3 separate regions of the Homo sapiens genome follow, and regions 1 and 3 are each linked to region 2. The links are contacts of gene promoters, found by promoter capture Hi-C in blood cells and fetal thymus (Javierre and others, 2016). All regions are on one chromosome and are shown on one strand. The core of a region is centred on a gene start or on the middle of the fragment in contact, and the rest is flanking DNA. Distances in the headings are between cores, read along the strand shown.

Region 1 (4,803 bases), core at 384-2,883, 890 kb after region 2:
AACCCAAACCCAACTCAGGCTAAATACAGGAATACAAGAAAACGCTGAATTTCTCCCCTTTCTTTTTTTTTTTTTTTTTGAGACAGAGTCTTGCTCTGTCACCCAGGCTGGAGTGCAGTGGCGCGATCTTGGCTCACTGCAAGCTCCACCTCCTGGGTTCACGCCATTCTCCTGCCTCAGCCTCCTGAGTAGCGGGGACTACAGGTGCCTGCCACCACGCCCGGCTAATTTTTTGTATTTTTAGTAGAGACAGGGTTTCACCGTGTTAGCCAGGATGGTCTCCATCTCCTGATCTCATGATCTGCCCGCCTCAGCCTCCCAAAGTGCTGGGATTACAGGCGTGAGCCACTGCGCCCTTCCCTCCTTTTTTTTTTAAAACAACAACAACAACAACAACAAACAGTTTATTCAGTAATTATGTATACGTATTTTAGCTTCCAAAGTCAGTGATGGAACAAATTGAGTCCTATTAGGCCCACTCCATTGCATGAGTTAGCATCAGAGGAGGTCAAACTAGAGTGACTTCATCTTGAATATGGGCTAGGTAAGAAGAGGATGAGGCCTGCTGGGCTGCATTCCCAGGAGGTTAGGCATTTGTAGTCACAGGATGAGATAGGAGTTGGGTAGGAATGGTTTCATAAAGACCACAGGATGCAAGCTGGGTGTGGTGCCTTATGCCTGTAATCCCAGTACTTTGGGAGGCCAACGCAGGAGGATTGCTTAATCCTAGGAGTTCAAGACCAGCTTGGGCAACATAGTGAGACCTCATCTCTACAGATAATTTTTATTTTATTTTATTTTATTTTTTTGTGATGGAGTCTTGCTCTGCCGCCCAGGCTGGCGTGCAGTGGCATGACCTTGGCTCACTGCAACTTCTACCTCAGGGGTTCAAGCGATTCTCCTGTCTCAGCCTCCTGAGTAGCTGGAATTAGAGGCGCACACCACCACGCCTGGCTAATTTTTTTGTGTTTTTAGTAGAGATGGGGTTTCACCATGTTGGCCAGGCTGGTCTCGAACTCCTGACCTCAGGTGATCCACCTGCCTTGGCCTCCCAAAGTGCTGCGATTACAGGCATGAACCACCGTGCCCAGCCTCTACAAATAATTTTTTTTTTTTTTGAAATGGAATCTCAGTCTGTCGCCCACACTGGAGTGCAATGGTGCGATCTCAGCTCACTGCAGCCTCTGCCTCCCTGGTTCAAGCGATTTGCCTTACAAATGATTTTTAAAAAATGAGCTGGGTGTGGTGGTTTCACAAGATACGGGTGATAAAGACCCCAGGATGCGGGCCGGGTGTGGTGGTTTATGCCTGTAATCCCAGCACTTTGGGAGGCCAAGGCAGGAGGATTGCTTAAGCCTAGGAGTTCAAGACTAGCCTGGACAACATAGTGAGACCTCATCTCTACAAATAATTTTTTAAAAATGAGCTGAGTGTGGTGGTGCAGGCCTGTAGTCCCAGCTCTTGGGCTAGGCATGGGGGTCAGCTCAGGTGGGAGGATTGCTTGAGCCCAGGAGTTCAAGGATACAGTGAACTATGATTGTGCCAGTACACTCCAGCCTGGGCAACAGTGCAAGACCCTGTTTCATAAACAAATTAAAAAACCCCAAAAACCTAGGATGCAATGAAGAAGGAAGCCGAAACCCACCAAAACCAAGACGGTGATGAAAGTGACCTCTGGTCATCCTCACTACCCATTATATGCTAATTATAATGCATTAGCATGCTAAAAGATACCACCAGCACCATGACAGTTTACAAATGTTGTATTAATGACAGGAAGTTACCCTATATGGTGGAAAAAGGAAGGAACCTTCAGTTCTGGGAATTTCCTCCCTGTTTCTGGGAAAATCATGAATAATGCACCCTTAGTTTAGCATATAATCAAGAAATAACCATAAGTATACTCAGTTAAGCAGCGTGGCTGTTCTGCCTATGGAGTAGCCACCCTTTTTTATTCCTTTATTTTCTTAATAAATTTGCTTGAATTCCTTCCTGGGTAAAGCCAAGAACCCATGTGGCCTCCCATGGTGATCTCCAATTTTGGGATTCACCATGTGACATTAGGAGCAACTTAGGGATCTGGTGCATCCCAGGCCAAGACTAACATGGTGATTTTTGGGGGGTTATGTTAAAACTGGGGGCTCTGCCCAGGCCCCTCAGTGTGGCTTCTTGAGTCAATACCTGGGTACTTACTGGCCCTAGCACCTACAAGTTCATTCACAGTTCCTTCTCACTGACTTCACCAGTGACCACTATCAGTGACTTCAAGGGAGAAATGAGGGGGGAGATAAAATAAAGTGAATGGGGAAGAGATAAAGAAGAGAGGTCTTTTCACAGTTTGCCAGAATAGTCCCTTCAGTGGTTTTACCCCAGGGCAACAGGAGCCCCCTTTTAGTTTCTTTCTCTTTTAATTTTCTTTTCCCTTCCCACTTTTTGCCCACTTTTTGCCTTATTTGTGTCTGACTCAATTTCCGTCTCTTTCTCTACTTCTTCATTCCCAGATTTGGCTGTAGAAAATTAGAAAGTTCTTGAACTTGGTTTGCACGGGTGCTTTTACTTTAACATGAAAATGAATGATCAGCCTCCTTCTAATTTCATCCTAGAGTCTACTGCATCCCTCCTACCCCCTGCACAGGAATTTAGTCACACTTATCTCTCCCACTTTCTCTCCCTTCTTCACTTTCTCTATTGCTCCTCCTTTCATGCTTGTACCTGCTTTTCCATGCCCTGTTTAGCCTGGCTTGGGATCCAGCAGGTTCTCCAAGGGTTCCTGCAAGAACCCCGGCTGGGTGCCCAGGTCTGAGCCTGGTATGTGCCTCAGTATCACAAAGGCCTCCTGTAAATGACACACATTGTTGGAAGTTTCAGAAATTCTAGGTCAAAATGGCACTGAAATATTAAGGTATTTACCCCAACCCAAGCAACTTTTCTAAAAGTTGTAGAGAGTGTGACCTCTTTATTAATTGAAACGTGAAAATCAGCTCTAGTTTGGAAGCTGAGAAAAAATATATATATATGTATTTATTTCTTTGTTGTTTGAATTCTTAATATAAATGGTTTAAAGGACCATTGAAAACTGCATGCAATCACAGAAGGTTTTGGCTTCAGGCAGCTCCCGCCATGATCTTGGGGCCCCATTGATTCTTTCATCTTTCAGGCGTCTTACTGTTTGAACCTTGAATTTTAACCTGGGACATGTTTGACTAAAATGATGCTGTTAATATTTTCTGTTGTGCAAAACACAAAGAGAACTAGGCTCCAGGGTTGTTTCTATTTGCTAATGCTGTTTCTGTTGACTTTTGACTTTTCTAGTTTCCCAGAGCTATGGGGACTTCCCATCCGGCGTTCCTGGTCTTAGGCTGTCTTCTCACAGGTACGGAGCCCAGTCCTCTCTGAGTTCCTTGTTTGGGTGTCTTGTTTTTTTAAGCTTTGTGCTGCATGGGTTTATTACCAGTACTCTGCATACACAGTCCAAAAGAGTGAAAAGAAATAGAAAACTATAGGACGTTATCCAGAATGACCACAAACCTTCAGTTCCCTTTGCTGTATTGCACTTACTCCATTTCAAAAGGAATGCTCTCCAGTGGCAGTTTTAGTACATATATAATGTTGGCATTGAAATGTTGTTAGTAATAATGTCTAAATTTACTTACTACTCTCTTCCTTTTCCTAGGACAAGGCTTCTATTAGAGCTGGATTAGATAAATTCAGGAATGGTCAGCTGTGGGAGGTGGCACATCTGTTGTCCCAGCCCCTTGAGCAGCTGAGGTGGGATGATCCCTTAAGGCCAGGAGTTCAAGGTTGCAGTGCACTGTGATTATGCCTGTGACTAGCCACCACACTCCAGCAACATAGCAAGACCTCATTTAAAAAAAATGTTCAAAGGAAATAAATAATAGAAAATTCTTGCCCAAGAAATCATACTTGTCTTAAATCATAACTCTCTTGAGGAAAGATGCTTACATTGCTTCTAAATCTCAGAGTCACCTTTATCTTCTCTAGGAATCAAATTGATAGATGAATGTTTGGCTCTTGGAAAATCTTAAAAACTTTCCCACCAAAAGGATCATTGGGGTAATTTGTTGAAGTGTGTATTGGACTGTCTTAGTTTTCCTCCAGATATTTATGCACTGCAGATGTTCGCCATGAAACCAGTGCTCTTCTATTCTGAGGAGTTAGCTCAGCCCGTTAGTGTCTTTGTCTTACCCATTTGGATATGGTAGAATTGAGCAAGACCAGAGATTCAACAGTTCTAAGCTCCACTAAGTATACCCCATCTACAGAGTAATAGGTGATCCAGATGTACTTACAAATCCTATCTTAACAAGCTTTAGGAATTATAGTGGTCATATATTGAAGTTGGGTGGGAGTCTCACACCAGGTTCCAAGGGAGATTACAAATCACTAATTAATAATTAAGTCATAATATCTCTTCTATCAGTCTCGGGTTTCTTGTTTTCTAAGTTCTGTGCTCCATGGGTTTATTATCTGTACTCTGCTTACACAGTCCAAAAGAGTGAAAAGAAATAGAAAACTACAGGACGTTATCCAGAATGACCACAAACCTTCAGTTCCTTTGCTGCATTGCACTTACTCTATTGCAAAAGGAGTAAGTGCAATTTCAGTCTAAATAAGCGAGACTGAAATTTGAGCTTCGAAGATGAACTTAGAGTTTTCACTCTTGGGTTTTACTTACCAATTGTGAATTAAAATCCGTATCATCTGGCACCACTGCACTCCAGCCTGGGTGACAGAGCAAGACTCCATCTCATAAAAATAAAGAAATAAATAAACAAATAAATC
Region 2 (4,308 bases), core at 1,481-3,980:
TAGAGATTGAGTTTTGCTGTGTTGCCCAGGTTGATCTCAAACTCCTGAGCTCAAGCAGTCTGCCCCCCTCAGCCTCCCAAAGTGATGGGATTACAGGCATGAGCCACTGTGCCGGGCTCTAAATCATACTTGACTACGTTATATTGATACTTGACTACATTATATTGTAAACTTTTAGAGGGCAGAAGTTATGCTCACCTTATTTATTCTGTATGTTTAAAAAAAGGGCGCGGTGGCTCACGCCTGTAATCCCAGCACTTTGGGAGGCCGAGGCGGGTGGATCACGCGAGGTCAGGAGATCGAGACCACGGTGAAACCCCGTCTCTACTAAAAATACGAAAAGTTAGCCCGGCGTAGTGGCGGGCGCCTGTAGTCCCAGCTACTCGGGAGGTTGAGGCAGGAGAATGGCGTGAACCCGGGAGGCGGAGCTTGCAGTGAGCCTCGCGAGATTGCGCCATTGCACTCCAGCCTGGGCGACAGAGAGAGACTCCGTCTCAAAAAAAAAAAAAAAAAAGCATTACCTACTGAAGATGTAAAGAGCTGTTACTATGATGCTGGACAGTGGGATATTAAGTTTTGCCTAACAGAAGTCTTAGGGGAGGGTACAAAATTATGTGAACTTCCCAGTTGATTATGAAACAACTTTGCTACATTTTTGGCATAAAGAGATAGAAGTAACAGTAATATATAGCATCCACAAAAAAACTCAACAAGCATCTACTTATCAGGTTTTATCTTTTAATCCCCTATGGACTCTGTGATGCTACAGTTATTACTTATATATTTAAATCACAGACTGGACACCTGGTTTTTCCAGTCACATAATTAAGTTTACATCTCAGTATTACCATTTAGCCTACTTTCCATTTTTTATCTGAAAATTAATCTTATTAAGATTAAAAACTCAAATATACCTATTTCGTTTTTTATAACTTAATTCAACTTTTTTTCTGACCGATTAAAGGGAATGCCTACCAATGTCAGTTTTCCGATTATTCTCCCTGGACTTGGAAGTGGCTAGGCTATATTACTAACAGTATTATACAACCTAATTAGAGAACAATAAAGTTGACCTTTGAAAATAACATATCAAACATCAGAAAGTGTCTTTTCTTCATCTGCTTTAAGGATTACATTTGTTTCTTTTGTGTAAATAATACATTATTACAATTTGAGATTATTTACTTAATCTTTAATACAATGAGAGCTAAAAATAAATCAATAAACATTTGAAAATATTTTCTACAATTCTATTTCATCTCATTTACTAGTAACATTTAAGTTCAGCCTCACTTTTGAACACTCATTTCCTAAACCTCAATTGTCTGTAATAATTTTATGTTTTCTTGTGCAGTAGTTTTCCTTCCGCTGGGTCATCTATTAACACTTCTCCAACAAACCAGAGTCTTCTTATGAAGGACTGTTGTGAATACTGGCATTCGTAAATTTCTAAAAATAAAATTTCCCAGGTGCACAGTTTTCCTCCCTGTCAGCATAATCTTGGGCTAAAGTTGTTGTTTAACAAGGCAATGGGCATTTATGACATTTCTACCCATTACAGCATTTAACAAATGTTATTGTAATTGCTAATTCACCTGTCTGTATTCCACTTTAGACAATAAACTCTGTGAGATTAGAGACCGTGTCCATCTAGTTCATCTTTGTATCCTCAATCTAATATATAATAAAAGGTCAATAAAATATATGCTGAATCAATGAAAGTCCCAGCAATGTGGGGAATGGTAATGAAGAACTCCAGAGCAATGCACTTACCTGTGAGATCCAGGGTTCTGTCCACAAAAACCACTGATGCCCTGCCTGCAGCAGTCTTCTTCCTGTTCTTTGCAGGGGCATAATTGGCCAGATCCGCAGCGATGACCTGACTTAAGGAACCTACAGCAAAACACTCCTCCCGTACTCCTAAATGTTCACACAGAGAACTGAGGCCTGACACTAGGCATCTGATCTGCAGCAGCAGCTCTGGGGTTAGCGTAGTGGAGTCCACATCACCCAGGCTTCCCAGCTTCCTCTTGTCCGGTCGGGCGCTATTAAGGAGGTGCACATCCTGGGGTAGCAGTGGGAAAAGGGATGCAAAAGCTGGAGTCAAGGCAAAGTGGGGAGCAACAGGGGCAAGCAATAACGGGACATGGAACACCTCGGCCGTGTAGTTCATGTTGCCCATCCATTCACACAGCTTCTCCTCCAGCTGCTCGAACACCGGCTGCTGCCCCTCCATCTCGGCCGCTGCCGCCGCTGGGACATGATTAGCTGTGAGGTGGACAGCGTGGCTCACGGTTGTGACCACCACACAATACTGGAAGTGACTGCGGCAGATGATGTCCCGTAGGATCTCCACGGTCCGGCCTTTCAGCAGGCAGCTCAGCACAAACACTGCCTTGGGCTGCTTGGCTCCACCACCAATTGCGTCGGGCTCGAACTCTCGCAGGTGACAGTCAGGACCCCCCACCGCCTCCAGGAGACGGGTGGATCCGCAGCCCCAGTGCAGGCTCTCGGCGCAGGCGGCGTCCAGGTAAACCACAGCCCGTTTCACTTTGGCCAGCACCTGCTCCCATCCTTGCTGGGTAAAGGACAGTACGCCCGAGGCGCTCATGGTTGGGGATTCGCAGACTTGGGAAACTACGGTGCAGGAACTTCTTTCAGAACTCACCGCTTCCGGAAATTGGGCTCCGGGAGACTTTGACAGTCTCCACAGTACACGTGGTCGGCCTCTGACACGCTCCCTGATGGCGCTCGGTGATGACGTTAAACTGAGCGGTGATTGGCTAGAGAGGAGGCCGGGAGTGAGGAAGGATGGCGCGGTCGGGAAAGAAGTGGGTGGGGCTCTGTGGCTCCGGGCTTCCTCAAAAGCTCGTGGAGATCAGGTGTTTCCTGAGATGGAGCTGAACTGAGTTCTTTCCGTCGCTCGGCCTGTCTGCGCAGATAATCTTCTCAGATAATCTTCTCATGTTCCTTGAAAAGTCTCCGAAATAAAAACCTAATCCGAAATTTGGTATCTTCCTTAGATATGAACACGTCTCCAAAAGTACAGCCACCTTCTCAATCTAAACTCAGAGCAACTAGAAAAAGATAATAAAAACAACCGTGTGCAATATTTTGGGTTTATAGATTGCTGTCACATACGTTATCGCCCACAAGCCTCATAACAAACCCTGTTGTTCTCATTTTCACTTTCTCCATCTTTCCTCCCTCATCTCATCGTCACTACATCTTATAGGCTTAAAAACTCTCAGAATTCAGCCCTTCCTCTCCATTTTTGCTGTCACAAAAACCCAACATCATCGCTCACCCAGGCAATGATCTCCCAACATTTTCTGACTTTTGATCTCTTTACCCTCCAATTCTATTTTCTTCCTAATAAACAAAGTTGGTCCTACAACTTTCCTGCTTAAAAGCTTCTCCTAGCCCAGTTGCCTATAGGATACATCCACACTCTTTAAAAAGCATCAACATCCTTCTTGATTTCTCAATTTCTCTCCAGCTATTCCCAACATGGAGAAAAATTGTACCGATACAATGAAGTCAATAGGCTGAACCCAAAATGTTTTATGGGTTCTGTTTGTTCCACCAATATACTTACATTACTAAGTATAATCTCTGTGCTAAGCTTCAAAGATGCAATGGTTAATAAAATTCATTACCTAATCCACAAAGAATTTACCTGGTAAACTTACCGAAAATAATCATTCCAACAGTACTGCCTGTGAGAGACTTTTTCTAACTCACCACCACTATCACCCTATCACCTCTCACTTCCCCCACCTATCAAACCACTCAATTGATACATTCGCTAAGTACTTGCCATATCATGGGGTAAGTATTAACACTATTTTCTTTAAACTATCTGTTTTGCTAAATTATGCACTAGATGCTTGGTATCCCCAACACTTATAACAGGTGTTCAATAAATGTTCGTTGAATGAATGTTCAATTAATATCCATGGCCAGGCGCGGTGGCTCATGCCTGTAATCCCAACACTTTGGGAGGCCGAGGTGGGCAGATCACCTGAGGTCAGGGGCTCAAGACCAGCTTGGCCAACATGGTGAAGCTCCGTCTCTACTAAAAGTACAAAAAATAGCTGGACATGGTGGCAGGTACCTGTAATCCCAGCTACTCGGGAGGTTGAGGCAGGAGAATCACTTGAACCCAGGAGGGAGAGGTTGCAGTGAGCCAAGATGGCACCACTGCACTCCAGCCTGGGCGACAGAGCGAGACTCTGTCTCAAAAAAAAAAAAAATTCCACATAATAATATATCCAGCCAATTTTTAATAAATACGTACAGTATTCC
Region 3 (4,718 bases), core at 1,077-3,576, 820 kb after region 2:
GGGAGGTAGGCATAGTTGCAGGGACATAGTGCAAAAGAGAAGATGCTGGGATTTACAGATAGATCTTGATTTGCAGATTGGAGGCTCTAAATAAACAAAATAGGAAAAACTCATGGGGTTTGTATAGAAATACAATTAACTTATTGAGGAGGATAATCTATTTTAAATTATTTTGGCATATTTTTAATATAATTACAAATGAGGCTAATCTCTTTATCAAAACTCTTCCTTCCTATAAATGAATTCTTCTTGTTCAATAGTTAGCTCCACATGCTGTATGTTCTTCTAAAACACTCAACTACTTTATCTGTAAGTTAATTCATTTCCTAGCTAATTCATCTTAATTAGAATACTTTTACCATAACTGAATTGAGTTGTATTAACTCCATTAGTAAATTTATCTGAAAGTTCTTGAAACAAAATTTCAAAGAGTGAAGCAATGAAGAGTTACTTTTCACCGGGTGTGGTGGCTCACGCCTATAATCCCAGAACTTTGGGAGGCCGAGGTGGGCAGATCACGAGGTCAGGAATTCTACACCAGCCTTGCCAACATGGCGAAACCCCGTCTCTACTAAAAGTACAAAAAAATTAGCCCAGTGTGCTGGCAGGTGCCTGTAATCCTAGCTACTTGGGAGGCTGAGGCAGGAGAATCGCTTGAACCCGGAAGGTGGAGGTTGCAGTGAGCCAAAATCATGCCATTGCACTCCAGCCTGGGTGACAAGAGCCAAGACTCTGTCTCAAAAAAAAAAAAAAAAGAATAAAAAGAAAAGTTATGTTTCATATTGGTAATGATCATTTATTGGTTACTTCCCTGGCATCTATCTTCCAGTTTTCCCTTTACCTTTACTCCACAATGTGAAAACCTCCACAGTGTAAAACCCTCATTCCTGGTCATGTGATTTGGGTGGAACCAACTTTACTCCAAATGACAGGGGTGGGCTCTGATTGGCTTATGTCCCATGGTCACTTGTGTTGGTTCTGGGGTGATATGCTGCACAGTCAGAGACAACAAGATGCCAGGAGATGTTTGTTGGCCTTCTGTTGTGGAAAAGCTGGGCAATTTCCCTGCATGGTATGAGAACTAGAATTGCGCCGGGCGCGGTGGCTCACGCCTGTAATCCCAGCACTTTGGGAGGCCGAGGCGGGCGGATCACAAGGTCAGGAGATCGAGACCGTCCTGGCTAACGCAGTGAAACCCCATCTCTACTAAAAATACAAAAATTAGCCGGGCCTGGCGGCGTGTGCCTGTAATCTCAGCTGCTGGGGAGGCTGAGGCAGGAGAATGGCGTGAACCCGGGAGGCGGAGCTTGCAGTGAGCCGAGATTGCGCCACGGCACTCCAGCCTGGGCGAAAGAGTGAGACTCCGTCACCAAAAAAAAAAAAAAAAAATGATAACTAGAATTATGGAAGTTTCCTTCCTTCCTTCCTTCCTTCCTTCCTTCCTTCCTTCCTTCCTTCCTTCCTTCCTTCCTTCCTTCCTTCCCTCCCTGCTTGCTTGCTTTCTTTCTTTCTTTCTTTCTTTCTTTCTTTCTTTTTTTGACTGAGTCTTGCTGTATCGCCCAGGCTGGAGTGCAGTGGGGACGATTTCGGCTCACTGCAACCTCTGCCTCCTGGATTCAAGCGATCCTCCTGCCTCAGCCTCCTGAGTAGCTGGGATTACAGGCATGCACCACCAGGCCCAGCTAATTTCTGTATTTTTTAGTAGAGATGGGATTTCACCATGTTGGCCAGGCTGGTCTTGAACTCCTGACCTCAGGTGATCTGCCCACCTCGGCCTCCCAAAGTGCTGGGATTACACGTGTGAACCACCAGGCCCAGCCAGAAGTCATTTTTCTATAAGCAGAGGAAAGGAGATCCTAGAGTTGCCAGAGAGCCACAAAGTGGAGTCTAACGGTAAAGCCAGACCATAGAAGGCAGAAAAGAGACATATAGAAAAAAAATGGGTCCTTGGAAACATTATTCGAGCTGCTAGATACAGCCTTGCCTGAAGTTAACATTGCCTCTGGAGTTTTTGCTGATGAGACCGATAAATTTCTATTATTATTTAAACCAAATTGAGTTGTTTTCCTCACTTGCAAGTGAAAGATCACTGAAACAATCTGTACCTCTTAGTTTCCAGGTTTGCCTCAAGCACCCTAGTTCAGGCCCTCTTTCCTCTTGCCTGGACTACTGCACTCTCTTAACTACAGGCCCTATTTCAAGACTTTACCTTCAGATCTCTACTTCCCTACTGGGTTAATATCTATTTTTTTTTTTTTTTTTTTTTTTTGAGACAGAGTCTCGCTCTGTCACCAAGGCTGGAGTGCAGTGACGCAATCTCTGCTCCTTGCAACCTCCGCCTCCCGGGTTCAAGCAATTCCCCTGCCTCAGCCTCCTGAGTAGCTGGGATTACAGGCATGCACCACCACGCCCAGCTAATTCCAGCTAATTTTTGTATTTTTAGTAGAGAGAAGGTTTCACCATATTGGCCAGGCTGGTCTTGAACTCCTGACCTCGTGATCCACCCGCCTCGGCCTCCCAAAGTGCTGGGATTACAGGCGTAAGCCACTGCGCCAGCCCATGGGTTAATATCTCTTAAGCACATCTACAGTCATATCTCCTTGCTCAAAGACCTTCAGTGGGTCTCCAGTGCTGACTGGACTGTACTAAAAACAAACATCTTATTTTGACATTCCAGGCCCACCTCCGTGTTTCCCAGCCATTCTTAAGGCTTCCCATGATCTCCATTCAATGTTGGTAAGTCAGAAAATATCTTTTCACTTTTTCTTATTCTTTTTTTTTTTTGAGATGGAGTTTAATTCTTGTTGCCTAGGCTGGAGTTCAATGGCGCGATCTCGGCTCACTGCAACCTCCACCTCCCAGGTTCAGGCGATTCTCCTGCCTCAGCCTTCCTGAGTAGCTGGGATTACAGGCATGTGCCACCAGGCATGGCTAATTTTGTACTTTTAGTAGAGACGGGGTTTCTCCATGTTGGTCAGGCTGGTCTTGAACTCCCGACCTCAGATGATCTGCCTGCCTCGGCCTCCCACGCCTGGGATTACAGGCATGAGCCACCGCACCGGCCAACTTTTTCTTATTTGACAGCTCATTAGTGTTTAGCATTGTTGATGGCTCTCTACTAAGACGTTCTTTTCCCTAGTGTCTGTAATACAGCATTCAGATTGTTCTTCTCTACTCAAATATTAAATGTTGGACTTTTTCACGTTTGTATTCTAGTATTGCTTTCTTCTGAGTTGACATACATCACATTTTCTGGACATCTCTCATCTATTCCTATGACTTAAAATTCCCCCTTTTTGTCTTTACTTTCTTTTTCTTTTCTTTTTTTTTTTTTTTTTTTTTGAGACGAAGTTTCGCTCTTTGCTCTTTTCATCCAGGCTGGAGTGCAGTGGCGCGATCTCAGATCACTGCAATCTCCGCCTCCCCAGTTCAAGCAATTCTCCTGCCTCAGCCTCCTGAGTAGCTAGGATTACAGGTGCATGCCACCACCAGCTAATTTTTTGTATTTTTAGTAGAGACAGGGTTTCACCATGTTGGCCAGGCTGGTCTCAAACTTCTGACCTCAAGTGATCTGCCCACCTTGGCCTCCCAAAATGCTGACATTACAGGCGTGAGCCATCGCACTTGCTTTTTTTTTTTTTTTTTTTTTTTTTTGAGACGGAGTTTTGCTCTTGTTACCCAGGCTGGAGTGCAGTGGCACGATCTCAGATCGCTGCAACCTCTGCCCCCCAGGTTCAAGAGATTCTCCTGCCTCAACTTCCTGAGTAGCTGGGATTACAGGTGCCTGCCACTACACCCAGCTAATTTTTTGTATTTTTAGTAGAGAAGGGGTTTCATCATGTTGGCCAGACTGGCCTCGAACTCCAGACCTCAGGTGATCCACCCGCCTCGGCTTCCCGAAGTGCTGGGATTACAGGCATGAGCCACCGTGCCCAGACTTTTTTTTTAAAAAAAAAAAAAAAAAAAAAAAAGATGAGGCCTCACTATGTTGCTCAGGCTGGTCTCAAACTCCTAGGCTCAAGTGATCCTCTTGCCCCTTGGCTTCTAGAGTCACTGGGACGGCAAGGTGCACCACCACATCTGGCTAAAATACCTTTTAAATGCCAATGACTCCTAAATCCAAGGCTCCAGCTGAGACTTCTCCTCTAAGTTTCAAGTCCCAACATCCATTTTTTCCATTGGACATCCTCATCTCAGCCTTTCCACGTTCCCCTTTCCTACTCCCATAGTTGTCACCACTTATCTAGGTGCTCATGCCAGAAATTTCGAAATTATGCTGGTCTCTTGCACCTTTTTAATTCTTCAAATCTAATCAAACACTAAATCCTCTCAATTCTACATGCTAAACATCTCTTGTCTTTGTTACTTCTCTCTGTTCCCTGGCCGTCACCCTCTAGGAAAAGCCAAAAATCACCTGTCCTGAACTATTCAATAGTCTCCTAACTGGTTTCCCAACTCCCACAACCTTTCAACATTTACTGGGGGGCTTAATTAAAAATACTAAACACAAATTGGGCTGGACGCAGTGGCTCATGCCTGTATTTACTTTTTTTTAATTTAAATTTAATTTCTTTTATTTTTTTAAACAGAAATTCACTCTGTCACCCAGGCTTGAGTGCAGTGGTGTGATCTTGGCTCACTGCAGCTTCTCTGCCTCCCAGGTTCAAGCGATTCTCCTGCCTCAGCTTCCTGAGTAGCTGGGATTACAGGCACACACC

The links. The method cuts DNA at HindIII sites, captures the fragments that hold promoters and counts their contacts. A CHiCAGO score of 5 or more calls a contact.
Region 1: a fragment that was not itself captured here is called in contact with the fragment with the promoter of SCFD2 in region 2 in 1 of 17 cell types (neutrophils); the score reaches 5.5 in neutrophils.
Region 3: a contact is called between a fragment that was not itself captured here and the fragment with the promoter of SCFD2 in region 2, in 1 of 17 cell types (neutrophils). The highest score is 5.6, in neutrophils.

What each region holds. Positions count from the first base shown.
Region 1 is chr4:54,255,445-54,260,247 of GRCh38, forward strand. It overlaps PDGFRA (platelet derived growth factor receptor alpha), which reads left to right. Exons shown (of 23, transcript NM_006206.6): 2 at 3,313-3,373. The coding sequence starts at 3,325. Among named protein-coding and RNA genes, the nearest start is that of PDGFRA, 29 kb to the left of the region's middle. RefSeq lists a silencer at 997-1,223. The HindIII fragment of the contact is 3,584 bases long and covers 1-3,425 here.
Region 2 is chr4:53,363,331-53,367,638 of GRCh38, forward strand. SCFD2 (sec1 family domain containing 2) reads right to left here and starts at 2,731. Exons shown (of 9, transcript NM_152540.4): 1 at 1,774-2,731. The coding sequence starts at 2,611. RefSeq lists enhancers at 2,157-2,206, 2,427-2,626, 2,647-2,696. The HindIII fragment of the contact is 6,997 bases long and covers 1-3,411 here.
Region 3 is chr4:54,179,245-54,183,962 of GRCh38, forward strand. No RefSeq gene overlaps it. Among named protein-coding and RNA genes, the nearest start is that of PDGFRA, 48 kb to the right of the region's middle. The HindIII fragment of the contact is 7,036 bases long and covers 1-4,718 here.